Regions from separate parts of the Homo sapiens genome. Here regions 2 and 3 are each linked to region 1. The links are contacts of gene promoters, found by promoter capture Hi-C in human tissues and cell types (Jung and others, 2019). All regions are on one chromosome and are shown on one strand. Each heading gives the region's core, a stretch centred on a gene start or on the middle of the fragment in contact. The rest is flanking DNA. Distances are from core to core; before and after follow the strand shown.

Region 1 (3,255 bases), core at 329-2,828:
TCTGTTAGATTTATAATGAAAGTGAATTATTTCCTTCTTTAACAAAGAAAGTCAGAAAATATAGACACTGCTAGACTTAGAAACGTACTGTGTATTCTCATAGCTACTGTCTCAATTTCCAAAGTACACAACAAACATGCTCATGAAATTGAGAGAATAAAAATATCCGATCCTTTGAATTCATAGGCTAGGCCTTAGAAGATTTGGGGTAATAGATCTTGTGTCACTAGGGCACTTTTGTCCTCTTTAATTTTTATAAATCACTAAAATTATTGAACGTAGTTAAAACTTGGCAGCAGTATTACTCCTACCCTGAGTATTTTTTAAGTTTTTCAGTAATGTGGATACATAAATCTAAGGTAGGGTGTAATCTCTCAAGGAACTTCCAGCATTATTTTTTAAGTGGCCAAAAAAGTGGAAGTTCTTGGACTTTTGAGCCTCTACAAGGCTGGGAAATATTGGGACAATTTTGGGATTTTTTTTTTTTTTCCCGAGACGGAGTTTCGCTTTTGTTGCCCAGGCTGGAGTGCAATGGCACGATCTCGGCTCACCGCAACCTCTGCCTCCCAGGTTCAAGCGATTCTCCCGCCTCAGCCTCCCGAGTAGCTGGGATTACAGGCATGCGCCACCACGCCTGGCTAATTTTGTATTTTTAGTAGAGACGGAGTTTCTCCATGTTGGTCAGGCTGGTCTCAAACTCCCGACCTCAGGTGATCCGCCCTCCTGGGCCTTCCAAAGTGCTGGGATTACAGGTGTGAGCCACTGCGCCCAGCAATTTTGGGATATTTTTAACGCGTGTGTTTGAACTGTGTTTTTAATCATTTCTTCATCAACAAAAGTTTAATTTTATATTGATTTAGTCCGTATTTGGGGAGCAGGTGTGGCCAACTTTTATTTTTTATTGTAACTGTTATTAAAAAACAGTTCCCAACATGAAGCAACTGTTAACTTTTCCAGGGGTCTCTGAACTACCAAGGAACTGGACCACGAGCGTTCAATAGGTAGGCTGTTACAGATTAGAAGCTTTCCCTATTGTCAATCACATCATTAACGTCCCTACACACACACACACACACACAGAGACACACACACACACACACACACACCCACACACACACCCTAGTTTTGCGTCTGTAGCTACCATGAAACAGAGGCAGTTGAACAGCAGAGATAGGGGAAATCTACTAACTTTTACTCTGCCCACTTCCGGCCCAAATCTAGAAGTCTGTCTCCCTAAATAAAAAGAACAAAGTAATTTTCACAAGTGTGGGAATCTCCTCTCTTGAGCTCCTAGGATGGAAAGGTGGGCTGGGGCAGCAGGGTAACGATGGCCTGACAGGTCAGAGCGGGGAATAGTCCGGTAATAGTTGCTTCCTCACCGCGGTGGATCCTTTCTTCACCGCTTCCTGGGCATATTCAACTTGAAAAAGGTGTCCGTCTGGGGAGAAGACAGTGATCGCCCTGTCATATCGAGACGCCATCGCACAGGACTACAAGGGCTTGCCACCGAGCTTCCCGCTGCTGCAGCTGAGGCAAGCGGGGAGCCGCCGCCAACACAGCGTGCTACCGCCCGGAAGCGCTTCCACACGCGCCTCAAGCTGCCTCCCGGAAGTCCCCGCGCCCGCGCTTCGGCTGCTTCACGGAAGTCCTTGCTCCTTTGGCTGCCTGCGGATGTCCTCGCGCTTGCCAGCCTTTGTCACCCAAGCAGTGCCTGTGAGTTGACGGCATTCTTCCCTTACCCTTCATGTCTGACGCATAGCGCATATCTCCATTTCCCCACTACCGTGTTGCCCCAGGGATGGTGTCACGGCACTCGAGTTATAAAAATAATATCAAAGATTAGGGCTTAAAAATGAGGTCTTCAAATATCAGATATTTTTGTTATCGCATACATGTTGGAGAAACTGTGGTAAGTTAAATATCAGTCCCTTCCCTTTGGTTTCAAATTCTAAATTTCCTACTTTTTCTTTCTCTCTCTCAGGTTAACTCTTGTTATTTGAACCGAAGGAAAGAAAGCAAACTTCAAAATATTGTTGCTTCTGATATTTTCTGCCTTGTGAGCAAAATAGAGCAGATGAGCAAATGGTCCGTTAAATAAAGCAAATAGTCCATCAAACTAAGCTAATGATGAGAATTAAGATAATGTTCTTTTTTTTGTTTTGTTTTGTTTTTTGTTTTTTGAGACGGAGTCTCGCTCTGTCGCCCAGGCTGGAGTGCAGTGGTGCAATCTCGGCTCACTGCAAGCTCCACCTCCCGGGTTCACGCCATTCTCCTGCCTCAGCCTCCGGAGCAGCTGGGACTACAGGCGCCCGCCACCACGCCCGGCTAATTTTTTATATTTTTAGTAGAGACTGGGTTTCACCGTGTTAGCCAGGATGGTCTTGATCTCCTGACCTCGTGATCCGCCTGCCTCGGCCTCCCAAAGTGCTGGGATTACAGGCGTGAGCCACCGCGCCCGGCCCAGATAATATTCTTTTAATTGGAGAAATTTTGTAAAAGCCCAAAGTATGAGACTTAAAAGATGTCTGGAAATTTAGCTATAGCAGAAACTCTTTACAACTTGCTACATTACTAACTATGAAACAACTCTGTCGCTTTCTCCTTATCAATAAAATGGGAATATTAAAAAATCTGCAGCAGAGTATTCTGAGCTTAATATGTGTTTATGGGCATAATTACATAAAATGGTGCCTGGTGGGCAGTAATAGCCAGGTAAGTTTAGCTATTATTGCTTTCCATGTGTTGTTTAATATATGCAGTTTTCCACTGGGGAGGATCTTAAAGTTGGTGAAATCAACTTTAACCAAAAAAAAGAAAAAAAGAATAATTTCCTCAAAAGAGGAAAAATTTGATTCCCTGAATTCCAAATACTTAAATCAGAATTTTAATTGACTTAAACAATTTATTTAATTATTAATACTTTTTTTTTTAACGTAGGGACTTGGTTTCCCTATGTTGCCCAGGCTGGTCTCAAACTCCTGGTCTCAAGCAATCCTCCTGCCTTGGCATCCGAAAGTACTGCGATTACAGGTGTGAGCCACCACACCTGGCCTTTAGTTGACTCTTGAAGCAGTTTGTACTTATTGCCCCTCCATTGCTTTTCTTCAGTATTACAGTCTTGACAAGTTTGGTTTGACTGCAAAAAACCAGTAATTCCTAATGAAAACAATTCACTCTAACTGGTTACTTTACATTATTATGATAAACCAACATTTGTCCAAAGTGGTTTCTTGAGAAGTGTTTTGGTGTACTCGT
Region 2 (3,255 bases), core at 312-2,811, 110 kb before region 1:
CTGTAATCCCAGCAATTTGGGAGGCCGAGGCGGGTGGATCACCTAAGATCGGGAGTTCGAGACCAGCCTGACCAACATGGAGAAACCCCATTTCTACTAAAAATATAAAATTAACCAGGCATGGTGGCACATGCTTGTAATCCCAGCTACTCGGGAGGCTGAGGCAGGAGAATCGCTTGAACCCAGGTGGGGTCAGTGGCGGGGGAGAGGGTTGCAGTGAGGCGAAATCATGCCACTGCACTCCAACCTGGGCAACAAGAGTGAAACTATATCTCAGAAAACAAAAAAGAAAAAAAAAAGAATGAGATTAGGCCAGGTGCGGTGGCTCACGCCTGTAATGCCAACACTTTGGGAGGCCAAGGCCAGCAGATCACCTGAGGTCAGGAGTTTGAGACCAGCCTGGCCAATATTGTGAAGCCCCATCTCTACTAAAAATAAAAAATTAGCCAGGTGTGGTGGCACACACCTGTTGTCCCAGCTACTTGGGAGGCTGAGGCAGGAGAATGGCTTGAACCTGGGAGGTGGAGGTTGCAGTGAGCTGAGATCGCGCCACTGCACTCCAGCGTGGGCGACAGAGTGAGACTCCATCCAGAAAAAAAAAACCACAAAAACAATGAGATTAATAACTTGCCTAGATTACAAAGCTATCAAGTGGTAGAGCTGGGATTCAAACTCCAGGACCAATGTTCTCTCCTATGTTGCTACACTCTATTACATTCCACAAAAAGCCAACCCTACAAGCCCATTATTATCTACAAACTTGATTGGCATACCATCTAGGCCTTATTCTGTGGTCTCGGACTGAACTTTCTAGACAACTATGTATCATATACCTAGTTTACTACAAGGTAACAAGAGCCTTCTTAGACATAGTCATTCAGTAAGTAACAAACCCATACACTGGTATTATCATCCAGCCTACATTTCTCTATATTGAAATCCTACCTTCCCCCTCAATTTCAATGCTCATATATTCTTACCATTAATTAATGTCTGAAAAATGACTTCTTAGATTCCATGGGTAGTTTTCTAAAATTAAGTATTAATACTGTTGATTACATATTTAAACAATTTTTGGGGAGTAAAATTTAGCAATGCCGATTGAAATATTACCATTTGAACCAACAATTCCACTTCTAGCAATTTATCCTATAAAAATCCACGTTTCCAAACTGCACAAAAATACACATGCAAAGATGTTTATCACAGCATCATTTTTAACAGCAGAAAGTAGTGCAAACAGTATCAACGCCTGCGAATAGGCAAGTGGTCAAAAAACAATGTTATGTCAATACAGTGGACTACAATGCAGTTGAAAAAATGAAGCATTTATAGGTACTAATGAGAGGTGAAGCCAGCTGGACTTCCTGGGTCGAGTGCGGACTTGGAGAACTTTTCTGTCTTACAAGAGGATTGTAAAATGCAACCATCAGTGCTCTGTAAAAACGCATCAATCAGCACTCTGCAGACAGCAAGAGCATTCTAAAAATCACCAATCAGCGCTCTGTAAAATGCACCAATCAGCGTTTTGTAAAATGCACCAATCAGTGCTCTGTAAAATGCACCAATCAGCAGGATCCTAAAAGTGGCCAATCACAGGGAAGATTGAAAAAAGGGCACTCTGATAGGACAGAAATGGAACATGGGAGGGGCCAATAAGGGAACAAAAGCTGGCCACCCCAGCCAGCAGCAGCAACCCACTTGGGTCCCCTTCCACACTGTGGAAGCTTTGTTCTATCGCTCTTCACAGTAAACCTTGCTACCACTCACTCTTTGGGTCCGTGCCATCTGTAAGAGCTCTAACACTCACCACGAAGGTCTGCAGCTTCATTCTTGAAGTCAGCGAGACCACAAACCTGCTGGAAGGAACCAACTCTGGACACATCTTGGGGGCTTGTTCAGGATATCGCCACGTGATAAGGACCATCGGACCCCTTTTGCTTGCTATTCTGTCCTATTTTTCCTTAGAATTTGGGGGCTAAATACTGGGCACCTGTTGGCCTGTTAAAAATGACTAGCATGGCCGCCAGACTAAAGACACGGGTGTCAGGCTTTCTGGGAAAGGGCTCTCTAACAACCCCAGACTCTTTGGAGTTCGGAGCGTTGGTTTGCCTGGAACCAGCTTCCACTTTTCCTATACTTCTGGGCTGAGCCAAGGGTCGACAGAGAGGAAAGACATTCAGCTCTGGGGTCCCGACAAAAAGTTGGTTGACCCTGCAGCAGTGAGCGGAACTCTCAAAGTTATGTCGCCCAAGCGAGACTCACCCATCTATCCTATCTATCCTGAAACTTGCCTCCTGCGTCCTAATGCCTGTCAGACAAACTTCCTCCCACCTCTCTTCTCCAAGGCTACTCCCACTCCTAAAAACCACTCCCTGTCCCTGTTGCTCTTCTAGTTTCTCTTATAAGGATAATTTCTAGTATAAATTTCGGGGGGAGGTTCCAAGATGGCCGAATAGGAACAGCTCCAGTCTACAGCTCCCAGCATAAGTGACACAGAAGACCGGTGATTGCTGCATCCCCAACTGAGGTACTGGGTTCATCTAACTGGGACTTGTTGGACAGTGGGTGCAGCCCACGGAGTGTGAGCCAAAGCTGCGGGGGCATCGCCTCACCCAGGAAGCACAAGGGGGTCAGGGAATTGCCTTTACTAGCCAAGGGAAGCCGTGACAGACAGTACCTGGAAAATCAGGACACTCCCATCCTAATACTGCACTTTTCCAATGGTCTTAGCAAATAGCACACAAGGAGATTATATCACGCGCCTGGCTCAGAGGGTCCCACGCCCACAGAACCTCGCTCACTGCTAGCACAGCAGTCTGAGATCAAACTGCAAGGCGGCAGTGAGGCTGGGGGAGAGGGGTCCGCCATTGCGGAGGCTTGAATAGGTAAACAAAGTGGCGGGGAGCTTGAACTGGGTGGAGCCCACTGCAGCTCAAGGAGGCCTTCCTGTCTCTGTAGACTCCACCTCTGGGGGCAGGGCATAACTGAACAAAAGGCAGCAGAAACTTCTGCAGACATAAACATCCCTGTCGGACAGCTTTGAAGAGGGTAGTGATTCTCCCAGCACGGAGTTTGAGATTGGATAGACTGCCTCCTCAAGTGGGTCCCTGATGCCAGAGTAGCCTAACTGGGAGGCATCTCCCAGTAGGGGCCAACTGACACCTCATACAGCCAGGTGCCCCTCTGAGACGAAGCTTCCAGAGGAAAGATCAGGCAGCAACATTTGCTGTTCTGCAATATTTGCTGTACTGC
Region 3 (3,255 bases), core at 329-2,828, 84 kb after region 1:
AGAAAAAATTGCCAATCATTGTAGCTTCACAAAACTGGCACTTGCTACATTTTTTTCCCCCAAAGTTACTTAATGCTTATGGTAGAATTATTTTTTTGTTTTTATTAGGTCAATTAAAAGTCCAAACAACAGCAAGATCCAGTCAGTGCTAGATCAGAAGGGAGTTCATGTGTTTCTCTATACAGTTTGGTTACCAGGAGAGAGAACAGGAAAATTGATGATTCTGACAGCAACTCCATTAATGATGGCACACTTCTTAACTTCTTAGAAACCTATAGTTAAGAAAAGGTATGGTGTGCACAAAAAATGGATGTTGCTGCAGCATGGTTTGATATGACATAATAAGATTCGAAGAAAAAAATAATGCATATAGCAATGTGCATATTGACTTTTTGGAGAAAAGTATTGAGGTGTTTTTAGAAATTTTTTGTTCTTAGGGACCAACTTTTATTTTTAAAAATGTCGTATTTTGTAAGTATGTGTAGGTCTTCCTTTTACTATAGTACAGTAGTTATATCACTTTTTGCCTTGTTCTCATAGTTATAAATTTCTTCTTTTTTATTTTTATTTTTTGTATTTTGTTAAAAGAATAGAAACAATGTCTTGGTATGTTGCCCAGGCTGGTCTTGAACACCTGGGCTTAAGTGATCACCTGCCTTGGCCTCCCAAAGTCCTGGGATTACAGGCATGAGCCACTGCACCTGGTCAGTTTATGAACTTCTTAATAGAAAATAGGCTGTACAGAAATGACCAGGTAGAGATCTGAAGAGATTAAAGACAATTTTCAAAAAGAAAATATGGTTAAAATCATTGAGGAAATTTTTATTTGTTTATTTATTTATTTATTTATTTTGAGACGGCGTCTGGCTCTGTTGCCCAGGCTGGAGTGCAGTGGCACAATCTCTGCTCTCTGCAAGCTCCGCCTCCCGGGTTCACACCATTCTCCTGCCTCAGCCTCCCAAGTAGCTGGGAGTACAGGCACCCACCACTACGCCCGGCTAATTTTTTTTTTGTATTTTTAGTAGAGACAGGGTTTCACCGGAAATCTTTATTGTTTTAAAAATCTCTTTAGGACAAATAAAAAACTTCATTTAAATTTTGATATTTCAGAATCAAAAGAACACAAAATTACAGTTACCAAAAAAGAAAGTTATACAGTGTTCTGGCAGCACCTAGTTTTTTAATCATATGAGTTTCTTATAAAAGCATTTTAATTATATGTTACCTTTTAATAAAGAAGTTCATGGTGAGTTTTATTAATGAATTTTTTTACTAGATGCTAGAGGATGATTGAAGAGTTTTATTAATGAAGTTTTAATATTCATTTCATTATAAAACATTTTCTTAGTTTTTATAAAAATAAGCTGCATATTTTACATTGAAAGTTTTTCTGTTTATTATTATTTATTTTTATTTGTTTTAATTCAGCAACTAAGCTAGTATTGCAAAATGTTTTTCTCTGTGTTCTCTTAGAGGGTCTATTGCTTCCAGGTGAGCACTTTAGCACAAATTTTTTTTTTTTTTTGAGGTGGAGTCTCACTTTTTGTCGCCCAGGCTGGAGTGCAGAAGTGCAGTCTCGGCTCACTGCTGCTTCCGCCTCCTGGGTTCAAGCAATTCTTCTGCCTCAGCCTTCCTAGGGGCTGGGATGACAGGTGCCTGCCATCACGCCCAGCTAATTTTTGTATTTTAGTAGAGACATGTTGGCCAGGTTGGTCTTGAACTCCTGACCTCAAGCCATCCATCCACCTCAGCCTCCCGAAGTGTTGGGATTACAGGCGCAAGCCACTGCGCTGGGCCCAATTTTTATGTTAATTTGTTTCTTAAACTGCTGGCAAAATGTTGCTTAAGTATAATAGTCAATCCAACATATATTTTCCCATGTTATTGTCACTGTTACCCAGATAAAGTTTATTTTTTTGTCATTTTGAACCTTAAGAGAAAGATCTGGCTGGGCGTTGGTGCCCTTGCTTGTAACCTCAACACTTTGGGAGGCTGAAATGGGAGGATCACTTGACCCCAGGAGTTGAAGACCAGCCTGGGCAAGATGGCAAGACTTGCATTTTTTACAAAAAGAAATGTGAAAATTAGCTGGGCGTGGTAGCTTGTGCCTGCAGTCCCAGCTACTTGGAGGTGGAGGCAGGAGGTTCACTTGAGCACAGGACTTCGAGGCTGTAGTGAGTTTGCTGGTGTCACTGCACTCCAGCTTGGGTGACAGAGCAAGACCGTCTCTAAAAAAACAAAAAGAGTAACTCCAGTTTTCAGAGTAAACCACCATCTTCCTACATAAACTTATTTGCATATAGAGCATAAACTTCACTAGAATTCAACAAGCTCTATAAAAGCAGGAAGTGTGTTCTCTGCTGTATCCCAGGTGCCTAGAAAAATGCCTGAGGATGGACACACAAAATCTTATTTATTTCTTTCATTTCTTCAGTAAAAAGCAAGTGTTATATGATCACCTGTCTGAAAAATGTTTATTTAATCAACAAGTACATTCAGTGTATGAAAAGGCAAATTGTGTAGAAGGGATTTCTGAAGATGTTATATTGGACAGATACCTGTGTATTTTTCATTATCAGGCATTAGTAATTATAGCTTTCCACATTTAACAGAATTTTACTAATTATATATTCAAATATAAAGAATTTTACAAATTGCAGTGCTTGTGTTAAAGAATATGTTTTGTAAGTTCCATGTGTGTAATTCTTCAGATTTGGATATGTCTTGGCCCCCTGTAGCTTACTGTATGTGGGACCTTTGACTAAATTACTTAATTTCTCTAAGTAAGATTAAGTGAAATGATGCATGTAAAAATCCTGACTTGGTAATCATTTGCATAATTTTTATAAAATCAGTTGGCTAATCATCAAGCTTTTTTAAAAAGGTGAACACAAAAACATTTGAGATTGGTTTATCAGCTACTGTCTTATTTTAGCCACAGCATCTAATTTATTTCTGGGTGTTTTAATAGTATTAAGAAAGTGTTGATTCACGTGGCTAAGTTGCAAATGACAATATCTTCAAAACACTGTGCTTTCTGTCAGTGTACTCTTTGGTTAGACTGACCCAGAGGCTTGACATGAAAGTAGAAGGAGATTTTTCTTTCAGTACCTAAACTGTTCACATTCGTTATATAAGTATGAAGGGCAAAGAGCATGTATTGCCACAGCTGAGATTGTTTTCTCTTATTATTATCTTATTATCTCTTACTATTACACAATGGATTATTAAGAGATAGACGAAAAGGAGGTGCTT

Evidence for each region. Contacts are between HindIII fragments. The study calls those that stand out against the background at their distance.
Region 2: a fragment that was not itself captured here is called in contact with the fragment with the promoter of PSMA8 in region 1 in 3 of the 25 tissues and cell types used here (heart left ventricle, lymphoblastoid cells and small bowel).
Region 3: a contact is called between a fragment that was not itself captured here and the fragment with the promoter of PSMA8 in region 1, in 5 of the 25 tissues and cell types used here (aorta, liver, lymphoblastoid cells and 2 more).

What each region holds. Positions count from the first base shown.
Region 1 is chr18:26,132,192-26,135,446 of GRCh38, reverse strand. It overlaps PSMA8 (proteasome 20S subunit alpha 8), which reads right to left and starts at 1,578. Exons shown (of 7, transcript NM_001025096.2): 1 at 1,380-1,578. The coding sequence starts at 1,481. The HindIII fragment of the contact is 10,391 bases long and covers 1-3,255 here.
Region 2 is chr18:26,243,888-26,247,142 of GRCh38, reverse strand. All of the region lies in intron 1 of TAF4B (TATA-box binding protein associated factor 4b), which reads right to left. Among named protein-coding and RNA genes, the nearest start is that of TAF4B, 19 kb to the right of the region's middle. RefSeq lists a silencer at 1,950-2,308. The HindIII fragment of the contact is 3,830 bases long and covers 1-3,255 here.
Region 3 is chr18:26,048,507-26,051,761 of GRCh38, reverse strand. The region is part of intron 5 of SS18 (SS18 subunit of BAF chromatin remodeling complex); the gene reads left to right. Among named protein-coding and RNA genes, the nearest start is that of SS18, 40 kb to the left of the region's middle. The HindIII fragment of the contact is 4,682 bases long and covers 1-3,255 here.